4 separate regions of the Homo sapiens genome follow, and all the other regions are linked to region 3. The links are contacts of gene promoters, found by promoter capture Hi-C in blood cells and fetal thymus (Javierre and others, 2016). All regions are on one chromosome and are shown on one strand. The core of a region is centred on a gene start or on the middle of the fragment in contact, and the rest is flanking DNA. Distances in the headings are between cores, read along the strand shown.

Region 1 (2,700 bases), core at 1-2,500, 310 kb after region 3:
AGGGGTTTCCCCCTAGGGTCACGATCTCCCACAGCAGGACACCAAAAGACCATCTGCAGAGAGTGAAAGGACCAGTGAGTGGCTCCACCTGGCCCTCACAGAGCCCTCCGGGGGGCCCAGATATCCACCCCCACCACCAAGCACCTGCTGACCCTGTCGGCTTCAAGCACAGATGCTCACAGATGTCAGCCTGGGTCTGGCTGCTCAGATGGATGTAGCATGAAGGTGGGGAAGGGCTGCCTGCCTGCCTGGCCCCTACTCCATGAAGCTGAAGTCCTTGCCCAAGCCACTCCCATCAGAGCAGCCACACGCACAAGGGACACATGAGGCTTAAGATGAATTCATGATTAATGAATTAATGATACATTAATTAATATCATGAATTAATCTTAATAATTCTTAAGATTCTCACACTTAAAGCGGTGAGAATGCAGGCCACCAGACTCAGAGTGCCTTGTATAGTTCTTTTGCCATTTCTATGTGCTTGGAAAATTTCATAAAATCTTAGAAGGAAAAAAAGCTATAGAAAAACATTTTAACTGTGAAGGAAAACTCGCTTTGCAATGGGAACAAAATCATATCACAAAACAGCATCGCATGAGCCCATTTAGGGCAATAAAAAGCATACATGTGCACACCACGGAGCACACCAGAGGGCAGCCAGAGGTCACTGGGCGGTGTGGTCCAATGACATTCAGTCTCTTCTTTATGCTTTTCTCTGCCTTTTCCAACTAGCCTACAGTCAGCTTATATAATCGGAAAGCTGTTGTCCAATTGCTTATTCACAGCCCACAGTATTTAAGATGCACATGTTGGCCAGGCGTGGTGGCTCTCGCCTGTAATCCCAGCACTTTGGGAGGCTGAGGTGGGTGGATCATTTGAGGTCAGGATTCAAGACCAGTGTGACCAACATGGTGAAACCCTGTCCCTACCAAAAAATACAAAAAAATGAGCCAGGCGAAGTAGCACGTGCCTGTAATCCCAGCTACTCAGGAGGCTGAGGCACAGGAATCGCTTGAACCCAGGAGGTGGAGGTTGCAGTGAGCCAGGATTGCGCCACTGCACTCCAACCTGGGTGACAGAGTGAGACCCTATCCCCTCCCCCCACAAAAAAAGAGAGGCACATCACACCTCTGCTGACTGTAGAACACTTTAGAGGCAAGAATCCTGTGTTTTAAAAGTGATCAGCTCTTGTCATTGGACCTGGAAGAATGAGATTTTGGCTTCCACCTTTGAGCAGTTTGGGGCACACCAATCTATAAACTCACACAAGGCCATCTTCAGGTGGAGTCCCCAAGCTCCACTTGTGGGTGGGGGCAAGTCACTGGGTGCTCTGCCTGAGCCCAAAGCCCTACTCAGGACCACAGGAGGGTAACTGCTGGGCTGGGCCTGAGTCACCAAGGGACCCAGAGGGAGGCATGGGACTAGCAAGGGTGGGGGAGGCTGGGTTACTGGCCACCTGCTCGGCTCTCATGCTCTACCGGAGCTTTCAGAACTGCAGCCCGGCCTGGCCCAGCCATTTGCCTCACGAACACATCATGAAGGCCCCTCAGTGAGGGGGTCATTGCAGAGGGCTAGCACTGCAGACAGGTGCTCAGGGCCAGTGCAATTCCCTGGCCAAGCTGCACAGACGGGCGTCGTGGCCCCACTACATGTATAAGGGTGTTTCTGTAACCTCCACCCCAAGAGAGCAACACCCACACTTACACATCACTTTGCGTGGTGTAGATATGATCAAAAAGGGATTCAATTGCCATCCATTTAACTGGAATCCGACCCTAAAGAGAAGATGGAATAAAGACATTGAAGTTACTCTAACTCTCTAGGAAGGAGGGGTAAAGGAGAAGGCCAGGCCCTATCCCTGAGCTTTCAGTAACCAGAGGAGTGCTGTAGACACTCCTGGGCACAGAACTGGCCACACACATCTTTGAAGGGGCTGGAGCTCCAGCCTGAACCTCCTGTGGATTGCTGAGATGCTGGCGGGAGTCAGCTGCCCACCCACAGGCACACAGGGCCAGCTTGTCACATGCCACAGGCCTGCTGGTAGTGCAGAGCAGTGCTTCCCTATGCATGGGCCTGGAACTCCCCCTGCAAGATCTCCCCTGGGGTTCTGAGGGCCAATGTGTTTGGGAAACCAACATCTAGCATTTCCATGTTGGGCACTTTGCCAGCAGCTACCACACTGAAGGAGCCTTGAGGGAAGGGATTTGTCTGTGTGCCTTGGGGGAGGCTGTTTTTTCTCTCTTATTGTATTGCAGGGTGCTTTTAGCATCTCTGAATGAGTGCCCCCAGCCCCCTACATCCCTCATCAGTGCTGGGGTCTGACCTAACAAATCCTTTCCAGGGTGACTTGAGAAACAGCTTCTCCACAGACAAGCCTGAAGGTGCAAGTCCATTTTTAAAATGTGTGCCTTGGGTTGGAACACAATCTTACTGTCACTTCTTTTACTTAAACACATGAGGGATTTATGTCCTTAGTGCAGTGTGGCTGTCTTGGCAGCAGTGTGTGACAGTGTAGCCTGCACGTCTTGTATAAGAATGCCTTCAGCTTCTCTCCCTGGAGGACCAGTGCATCAACAGGAAGGCTCTGTCCACACCCTCCACAGGGCAGGGGCCAGCCCCTACCACTTCCCCCCACAGCAGTTCTGAGATCTGCTGTCACAAGGGAAACCCCAGAAGAAACGGAACAGCTCACAACCC
Region 2 (2,700 bases), core at 199-2,698, 280 kb after region 3:
TTCTTAAAAAAGAGTTCATACTGTGTGCCCTTATCTCTCTCAGTGCGATAATAACCTAAAGGAAAGAGTTAGGAACAAAGACGTCTCCATGTCAAAGTTTACAAATTCAATGGGAAGACAGATTTTACTCACTTAAACATAAAGGGTATTAAACTAGACCTGCAGGATTTTTACCTATTTGTGAAAATACTTATCCCCACTGCACAGTAACAATTACTCGCTTAAAAGAAAAGGTTAAAAAAAAAGTTCACTGTTCTGTTATTTTATTCAATCTATAAAATATACTACAAATGACAATTGTTCCTTTTTACATACGACTTTTTAAAAATACTAGAGCCTATCAATATGGTAATCATGATAAATAAAGAAATTACTTCTAGCAATATTAAAATCTAGACCCAAGAGCCAAAATTTCTATTGGTTTAGGTCAACTAAAAGAAATCGAGTGCCTTCGTGTCAGTTATGTGATACAAAGAGTGCCACATGGTCTCAATTTTGAGGACAGGGCCAGTCTAGTGAAGGAGACAGAAAAATAGACAAATAATAACAATATAGTGCTATGTGATATATATATATATCTGTATATATATATGTGTGTATACATACATACATATAAAATCACTGACTAGAGTGAAGTCAAAGAAAAATTGGTACAGATTTAAACACAGTGATTTGAGATGCCTTTGAGAGAAAAGCATGCGCATCTACGAGGCAATCTGATTTTTTTTTTTTTTTTTTTTTTTAGACGGAGTCTCACTCTGTCACCAGGCTGGAGTGCAGTGGTGCAATCTTGGCTCACTGCAACCTCCATCTCCCGGGTTCAAGCAATTCTTCTGCCTCAGCCTCCCAAGTAGCTGGGACTACAGGCGTGTGTCACCACGCCCAGCTAATTTTTGTATTTTTAGTAGAGACGGGGTTTCACTATGTTGGCCAGGATGGTCTTGATCTCTTGACCTCATAATCTGCCCACCTCGGCCTCCCAAAGTGCTGGGATTACAGGAGTGAGCCACTGCGCCCAGTGGCAATCTGATTTTTAAGTATGGCGCTCAGGAGAGAGAAGAAGGTTAGACCTACAGATGTGTGAGTCACTCAGTAAATATCTGGGTATAAAATGGTGAATAAAATAGACTTGGTCCCAACCCTCCTGAGGCTTACACTTTAGTAGGAAGCACAAACCAGGAAATGGGCAATGCCACATACTGTGACAAGCAGTATGAATGTACAGGTGACAAGAGCACACAGAAGTACTGCTGTCTTAGACCTGAGGTTGCAGATGACTTCTCAGAAGAAGTGATATCTGAGCTAAAGTTTAGAAGAGGGATAGGAATTAGTTGTCATTACTAATTATTAGTAATTATTCTCCCTGCAGTGGGCAGACAGTGGCACAGTAGAGGAAAAGTGAGGAACAGAATATGTTCCATTTAGAGAAAAATCCTGAAGTATCAGAATCCAAGGAGAGTTATAAGACAAAAGCAGGAGCTGCAGAATATAAAACTGGCACAGCTCCCTTTCTTTTTAGGTAGAGCTGATGTGAGGACATTTTACACATGTTACTTAGTTATCTTATTTCCTCCGCAGCTTCCAATTCTGCCATAAGCTACAAACATACAGTGAGAAGACAAAAAGCTGAGCTTGCAGAAAAATCAGAAGAGTTTTGAGAAAAATAATCCATCAAAAATGGCAGGAAGTGACAGCAGAAAAAAGAGGAGGCCACAAGGAAAGGCAGCTGCAATGCCACTGCAAAGCATAATGCCCTCCCTGATGGCCTCCAAGGGCCTCAGTGTATTATAATAATGCTACAGTGCAGCAAGTGATGGCCATGATGATTTGGAGTCAAAAAGTCTACATGTGCTATACGAGGGGTCCCTAACCCCCAGGCCACAGACCGCTACTGGTCCGTGGCCTGTTTGTTGGGAACTAGGCGGCACAGCAAGAGGTGAGTGATGGGAGCCTGGCAAGCATTACCGCCTGAGCTCCGCCTCCTGTCGGATCAGTGGCTGCACTGGATTCTCAAAGTAGAGCAAACTCTGTTGTGAACTGCACATGCAAGGAATCTACACTGCACGCTCTTTATGAGAATCTAACTAATGCCAGATGATCTGAGGTGGAACAGTTTCATCCCAAAACCATCCTCACCATCCCATGGAAAAATTGTCACCCATGAAACCAGTCCCTGGTGCCAAAAAGGCTGGGGACCACTGTGATAACACAGTTTATAGAATCAAGCAAAGAGAACTTTCAAGAAACATTTATTTTTAAAATGGTTTAAGTCAGCAATTAAATGTCTAGCAGTGAGTGTAAAGGAGATGGGTAGGGATCTAGAATTATTACTGTTAATATCAATCAATATCTTAAATTTTATAGCAGTGTTCTTCAACCTCTGAGTCACATCCCATCTTGATACATAAAAATTCCATACCCTTTCTGAAATATGTATTAGGAAAACAGGTATTTCCTTACTTTTCCAAATGCCAAATGTGCTTTTTAAACTATGTATAACCCCTTGTTCAGACATGAGCTTCTCCTTCCTCCAATACGAAAAATAGCTAAGAGTCTACTAATTTTTTCTTTCCTTTATCAAATGGTTTTCAAGTTTTGAGTTTTAGTTTACACATTTTTTAAAAACATAAAAAAGAACACCAAGATCAGGTAAGTGAGGAATATAAATCATACACATGCAACAAGAGCTGTTTTATTCTA
Region 3 (2,700 bases), core at 155-2,654:
ACACAAGGGTATATTTCTTAATATATGGGGGCTGGGTGCAGTGGCTCACGCCTGTAATCCCAGCACTTTGGGGGGCTGAGGCAGGTGGATCACCTGAGGTCAATAATTCGAGACCAGCCTGGCCAACAAGGCAAAACCCTGTCTCTACTAAAAATACAAAAATTAGCCGGGTGTGGTGGCACGTGCCTGTAACCCTCGTCACTTGGGAGGCTGAGGCAGGAGAATTGCTTGAAGCCAGGAGGTGGAGGTTTCAGTGAGCCAAAATCACGCCACTGCACTCCAGCCTGGGCGACAGAGGGAGACTCCACCTCAAAATATATATATATATGGAACCTAAGACAAAAGCCTGCACTCACCCCTAATCTGCTAAATTCAAGTTCTCTCCATGATGAGGTTTCAAAAGGAATTAGTGCAAAATGTATTTAAGGATATGACCAGAAAGGAGAAAGAAAAAACAAATGGCTATTACACACACAGCAGAAAAGTAACACTAGGAGGCAAAGGAACTCAATGAAGAAATATTTCGGTGGCAGGCGGTGGTTCAGCCTGTAATCCCCGCACTTTGGAAAGCTAAAGCAGGAGAATCACTTGAGCCCAGGAGTTCAAGACCAGCCTGAGCAACATAGTGATACCCCTGTTTCTATTTATAAATAAATAAATAAATAAATATTTCCAACCAAAGAATACAAACTTAGTAAAGCTAATGAAGGAAGAACACAGTGAAGAGCTGCCGATGTAAGAGAAAAAAAGAAAATTTCCGGAGGAAAAAAGTTCAAAGATTTGCAACTATTTCCTCAGAAGGAACTGGGAAAAGGGAGTTTTGAGTAATAAGGCCTTGTGCAAGTTTCTGACTCTTAAGGATGTGAATGTACTGCCTTAAAAAATAAACTAAAAAGAGCCTCTTTTCTCACCACAACTCAACAATCATGAAGGTATCCTTGCAAGTGTGTGTAGACCTCTCATGCCTCCTAGGTCCAGGGTCACTCGTCCAGGACTCTCCCAATATCCCTGCCCAGAGGAAGCGCTTCCTCAGACTCGGTTCCTTCTGGTTGCCCTTGTCTCGCTTCTCTAGGGTGGGCTGGCCGCTCCCGCACTGGGGTCAAAGATCCTCCGGGTTCTCTCTGCCACGACTCGCCCTGATCCCAAATCCCAGCCCCACGGTCCCCACCCCCAGCGGGCCCAGTCCCCGCTCGATCCTGGGTGTGCGGCCCTCGACCTCAGACCCGGCCCCTGCCCGCCGGCCGCCCCTCACCTCGGCCTCGGAGGCTCCACGCTCCCCCTCTCACAGCCCGCACCTCGGCGGTCTCTCGGAGGAGGGAGGAACCCGAGGTACCTGGTAGTCGTAGCTGAGGAACTTACAGGCTTGTTGACCATCTCACCATGGAAACTGCCGCAGCGCTCCCTGGGCGGGGCCGCCGAGGGGCGGGGCCTGCGCGAATCCCGGGCGCCCGCCAGTCCAGCGCTCCCTGCGCTTCCGGAAGCCTTGCTGCTCCCGCGTGCCTAGCGGGGGCTCGGCCCTATGCCACGGGCATCCCACCCTGCTACCAGCTGCCCTCTTGTCCGCTGGCCGGACTCTTACCCCAGCCTTCTTCAGGAAGACACGGCGCAGTCCGGCTTCCCCACGAAAGCGAAGGTCGCTGGGACCGCGGCTGGGCGTCCGGGGGCGGGGCCGCGACGCCATTGTGACGCGCTCGGAGCAGGGCTGGGCCGAGGACCCCGGGCGCTGGAGGGCAGGCCCTAGCCACTGCTCCTGAGGCCCTGGAGGCAGCTGACGCTTGAGGCCGCTGGGCGCCGCAACGTGAGCCCAAAGGACGCCCCGCTTCAAGACTGGCGCAAGAGGAAAAAATGAAGGTCGTTTTCTGCGGAGGATGTTAGGAGAACGAGAACTGCGGGCCAGAGAACTGACCTAGCTTAAGGAGCGCAGGCAGCCTCTGCCGCCGGCTCTTGGGGAGACACGGAGAGGATGGGGTCCCCGCTCCGCATCAGGTCCTCTGACGCACCCCGGCTTTCCAGGAGGTAGGACTGGCCACAGGCCTCCTTCCCAGGGACAAAGTGCAAAGCAGAGGCTGTCAGCAGCGTGACCTTCGCTGCAGGAGAAATACGCGTCCAGTTCGTTTTCGTCAGAGTTCTGCTACATCAGGCCTGCCGTATTTGCTGTACACAAATCAGCCAACTTCCCAGGCCTGGGTGCGGAGGTATTTGTTAAGCACATGCACACAGTTGGAATTAGCAGCCTCAGGGATCAAAAGTTGTCCTTTTTTTTTTTTTTTTTTTTGGAGACGAAGTTTCGCTCTTGTTGCCCAGGCTGGAGTGCAGTGGCGCGATCTTGGCTCACTGCAACCTCCGCCTCCCGAGTTCAAGTGATTCTCCTACCTCAGGCTCCCGAGTAGCTGGGATTACAGTCGTCCGCCACCACGCCCGGTTAATTTTTTTTGTTTTTAGTAGAGATGGGGTTTCACCATTTTGGCCAGGCTGGTGTCGAACTCTTTTTTTTTTTTTTTTTTTTTTTTTTTGAGACGGAGTCTCGCTCTGTCACCCAGGGTGGAGTGCAGTGGCGCGATCTCAGCTCACTGCAAGCTCCGCCTCCCAGGGTCACGCCATTGTCTTGCCTCAGCCTCCCGAGTAGCTGGGACTACAGGCGCCCGCCACCACGCCCGGCTAATTTTTTGTATTTTTAGTAGAGACGGGGTTTCACCGTGT
Region 4 (2,700 bases), core at 19-2,518, 340 kb after region 3:
CCTGAGAAGGGTGCAGATCACGTGGGCATATTCGTTTGTCAGTATTGTGCAGCTAAGGTCCGTGCATCTTATCTATGTAATTTTTATTTATTTATTTATTTATTTATTTATTTATTTATTTATTTATTTTTGAGATGGAGTTTTGCTCTTGTTGCCTAGGCTGGAATGCAATGGTGCAATCTTGGCTCACCACAACTTCCACCTCCCGGGTTCAAGCGATTCTCCTGCCTCAGCCTCCCCAGTAGCTGGGATTACAGGCATGCACCACCATGCCCAGCTAATTTTGTATTTTCTTAGTAGAGATGGGGTTTCTCCATGTTGGTCAGGCTGGTCTCGAACTCTCAACCTCCGGCGATCCGCCCGCCTCTGCCTCCCAAAGTGCTGGGATTACAGGTATGAGCCACCGTGCCCGGCCTATCTATGTAATTTTTACCTAAATAACTGAAAAATGAATCACTGAAGGCGCTGTGGACAGAGGCGTAGCTTCCTTGAAGAAGGCAGGATGCTAGCCTCGGCTGTGGCTGAGTGAGCCCAAGCAGGGGCACGGTGCACTATGCTGCTGACTGTGTGTGGCCAACATTTCCCACAGTGGAAAGCTTTTAAAATAGTTTTTGGAACTCATGTACATTGTCGGTGAAAATGGAAAATAATATACAGTTATCATGAAAAACAAGAAGGTAGTTCCCAAAAACTTAAAAATTGAATTACCATATGATCTACCAATCCCACTTCTGGGTACATACGCAAAAGAATTGAAAGCCAAGTCTCAAATAGATATTTACACACCCATGTTCACAACAGCACTATTCACGATAGACAAAAGGTGGAAGCAACCTCAGTGGCCATCAATGGATGAATGGATGAACAAAACATGGTCTATACATACAATGGAATATTCAGTCTTAGAAAGGAGGGAAATCTGGCCGGGCGCAGTGGCTCACGCCTGTAATCCTAATACTTTCGGAGGCCTAGGTGGGCAGATCACTTAAGGTCGGGAGTTTAAGATCAGCCTAGCCAACATGGTGAAACCCCGTCTCTACTAAAAATACAAAAATTAGCTGGGCATGAAGGCGGGCGCCTATAATCTCAGCTACTTGAGAGGCTAAGCCAGGAGAATGGCTTGAACCCACGAGGCGGAGGTTGTAGTGAGCCGAGATTGTGCCATTGCACTCCAGCCTGGACAACAGAACAAGACCTGTCTCAAAAAAAAAAAAAAAAAAAGGAGGAAAATCCTGACACAGGCTATAACACTGATAACCCTTGAGCACATTATGCTAAGTGAAATAAGCCCATTGCAAAAGGATGAACACTGCACGATTCCACTTATGTGAGATCCCTAGAGTAGTCAAATTCACAGACACAACATAGGATGGTGATTGCTAGGGCTTGGGGGAGACAGGATGGGGAGTTAGTGTTTGATAGGGACAGAGTTTAAGTTTGGGAAGATGAAAAGTTCAGGGACGGAGGTGGTGATGGCTGTACAACAATGTGAATGTACTTAATGTCCCTGAAATGTATACTTAAAAATAGTTACATTGTAAATCATTTTTGTGTATATTTTTCCACAATAAAAAATCGTATGAATTTTTAAAAAGATGGATAAATAGGCAAAAAATGCTTAAAATCCATTAAGAACCTGCAAATAGACTCTAGAATGCCCAAACAATACCAACATCCAAAGGACACATTAGGAATACTGCACTTGTATGTAATCGATCTCTCTTTTTGATCAGTTTGCTCCCACCCAGACGGTTGCTGCTTGAGGTCGCTGAGGGGTCTGGAGGGCGGGGCCTGCAGCAGCAGTTGAGAACGCCCCCAGGGCCGCTGGGCTCCTCCAGGACACACCTGGGGGAAACAATCAAGTGCCAAGGGGAGCCTGGAAGAGAACAGGTGAGACGTCTGGAGTCCCACAGTGGGAAAATAGAACAGGAGAAAGCTTCTCTTGAAGTGCTCACTGTACATCAGGAACACTGCTCCCATGACAGTGCCCTCGGGGTGGGAGGGGGTGCTGCATTTCTGGCGACAGAGGGTGAGAGATTGTAACTCATAGTGGCCTCACAGGGCGAGGAGGGTCCAGATGCCCTGGCCCCGATGAGCCCCCTCCCAATCCCATGTGGCATCCTATGTCTGGGCTATCCATGCAGGCAGTGGGGTCCATGTTCTTACCCCAGAGAGGATGCTAGGGGTTGGCTGAGCTCAGGTGGGGAGAGGCAATGCAGCTCAGCTGGGTCTAGTTTTCTCTGGGACACACACCTCTGGCCCTGGTCTTCCCAATAAGAACCATTTGCCCTTGGGTGGCCGTGGGGTGGCTCTGGTGATGCCCAGGCTGCAGAAGAGTGGGTAGGGCCCTGGCACCCCATCTGTCGCAGGAGCAGATCCAGTCTGGGAATCCCACAGGTGCTCCTCTGGGGCCTCCATGATGTGCAAGCACCTTTAGTGGTCCAGGGACTAGAGGTAGGACAGGCCTGGGCTTCCCAAAGCCCCCACCACAAAGCCCACATGTGCAGGGGAGAACGGGCCTTCCTGCTCCCATCTGGCAGAGCCCACCCCTACAGGATCGTGGGGGGCCCAATCCCAATTGGTCTCCCTGCTGCCAAAAGGGATTTGTGGGTCAGGCAATGATTGCGAGCAGAAACAGACTTAAATGCACTTAAAATGCCTCCCAGGTGGTCTCTGCAGCTGGGCACAGCTGTCTTAAGG

Evidence for each region. The method cuts DNA at HindIII sites, captures the fragments that hold promoters and counts their contacts. A CHiCAGO score of 5 or more calls a contact.
Region 1: a contact is called between a fragment that was not itself captured here and the fragment with the promoter of ZNF487 in region 3, in 2 of 17 cell types (monocytes and neutrophils). The highest score is 5.9, in monocytes.
Region 2: a fragment that was not itself captured here is called in contact with the fragment with the promoter of ZNF487 in region 3 in 5 of 17 cell types (neutrophils, activated CD4 T cells, monocytes and 2 more); the score reaches 10.4 in neutrophils.
Region 4: a contact is called between a fragment that was not itself captured here and the fragment with the promoter of ZNF487 in region 3, in 1 of 17 cell types (neutrophils). The highest score is 5.3, in neutrophils.

What each region holds. Positions count from the first base shown.
Region 1 is chr10:43,121,024-43,123,723 of GRCh38, reverse strand. RET (ret proto-oncogene) reads right to left here. Exons shown (of 20, transcript NM_020975.6): 16 at 1,708-1,778; 17 at 1-53. Among named protein-coding and RNA genes, the nearest start is that of CSGALNACT2-DT, 16 kb to the left of the region's middle. RefSeq lists enhancers at 1,669-1,718, 2,469-2,588, 2,699-2,700. The HindIII fragment of the contact is 4,320 bases long and covers 1-2,700 here.
Region 2 is chr10:43,156,070-43,158,769 of GRCh38, reverse strand. It overlaps CSGALNACT2 (chondroitin sulfate N-acetylgalactosaminyltransferase 2), which reads right to left. Exons shown (of 8, transcript NM_018590.5): 3 at 1-55. Among named protein-coding and RNA genes, the nearest start is that of CSGALNACT2, 19 kb to the right of the region's middle. The HindIII fragment of the contact is 6,189 bases long and covers 1-2,700 here.
Region 3 is chr10:43,435,815-43,438,514 of GRCh38, reverse strand. It overlaps ZNF487 (zinc finger protein 487), which reads right to left and starts at 1,404. Exons shown (of 4, transcript NM_001355444.3): 1 at 1,253-1,404. RefSeq lists a silencer at 1,120-1,779 and an enhancer at 1,880-1,949. The HindIII fragment of the contact is 37,036 bases long and covers 1-2,700 here.
Region 4 is chr10:43,096,943-43,099,642 of GRCh38, reverse strand. All of the region lies in intron 1 of RET (ret proto-oncogene), which reads right to left. Among named protein-coding and RNA genes, the nearest start is that of RET, 21 kb to the right of the region's middle. The HindIII fragment of the contact is 1,340 bases long and covers 599-1,938 here.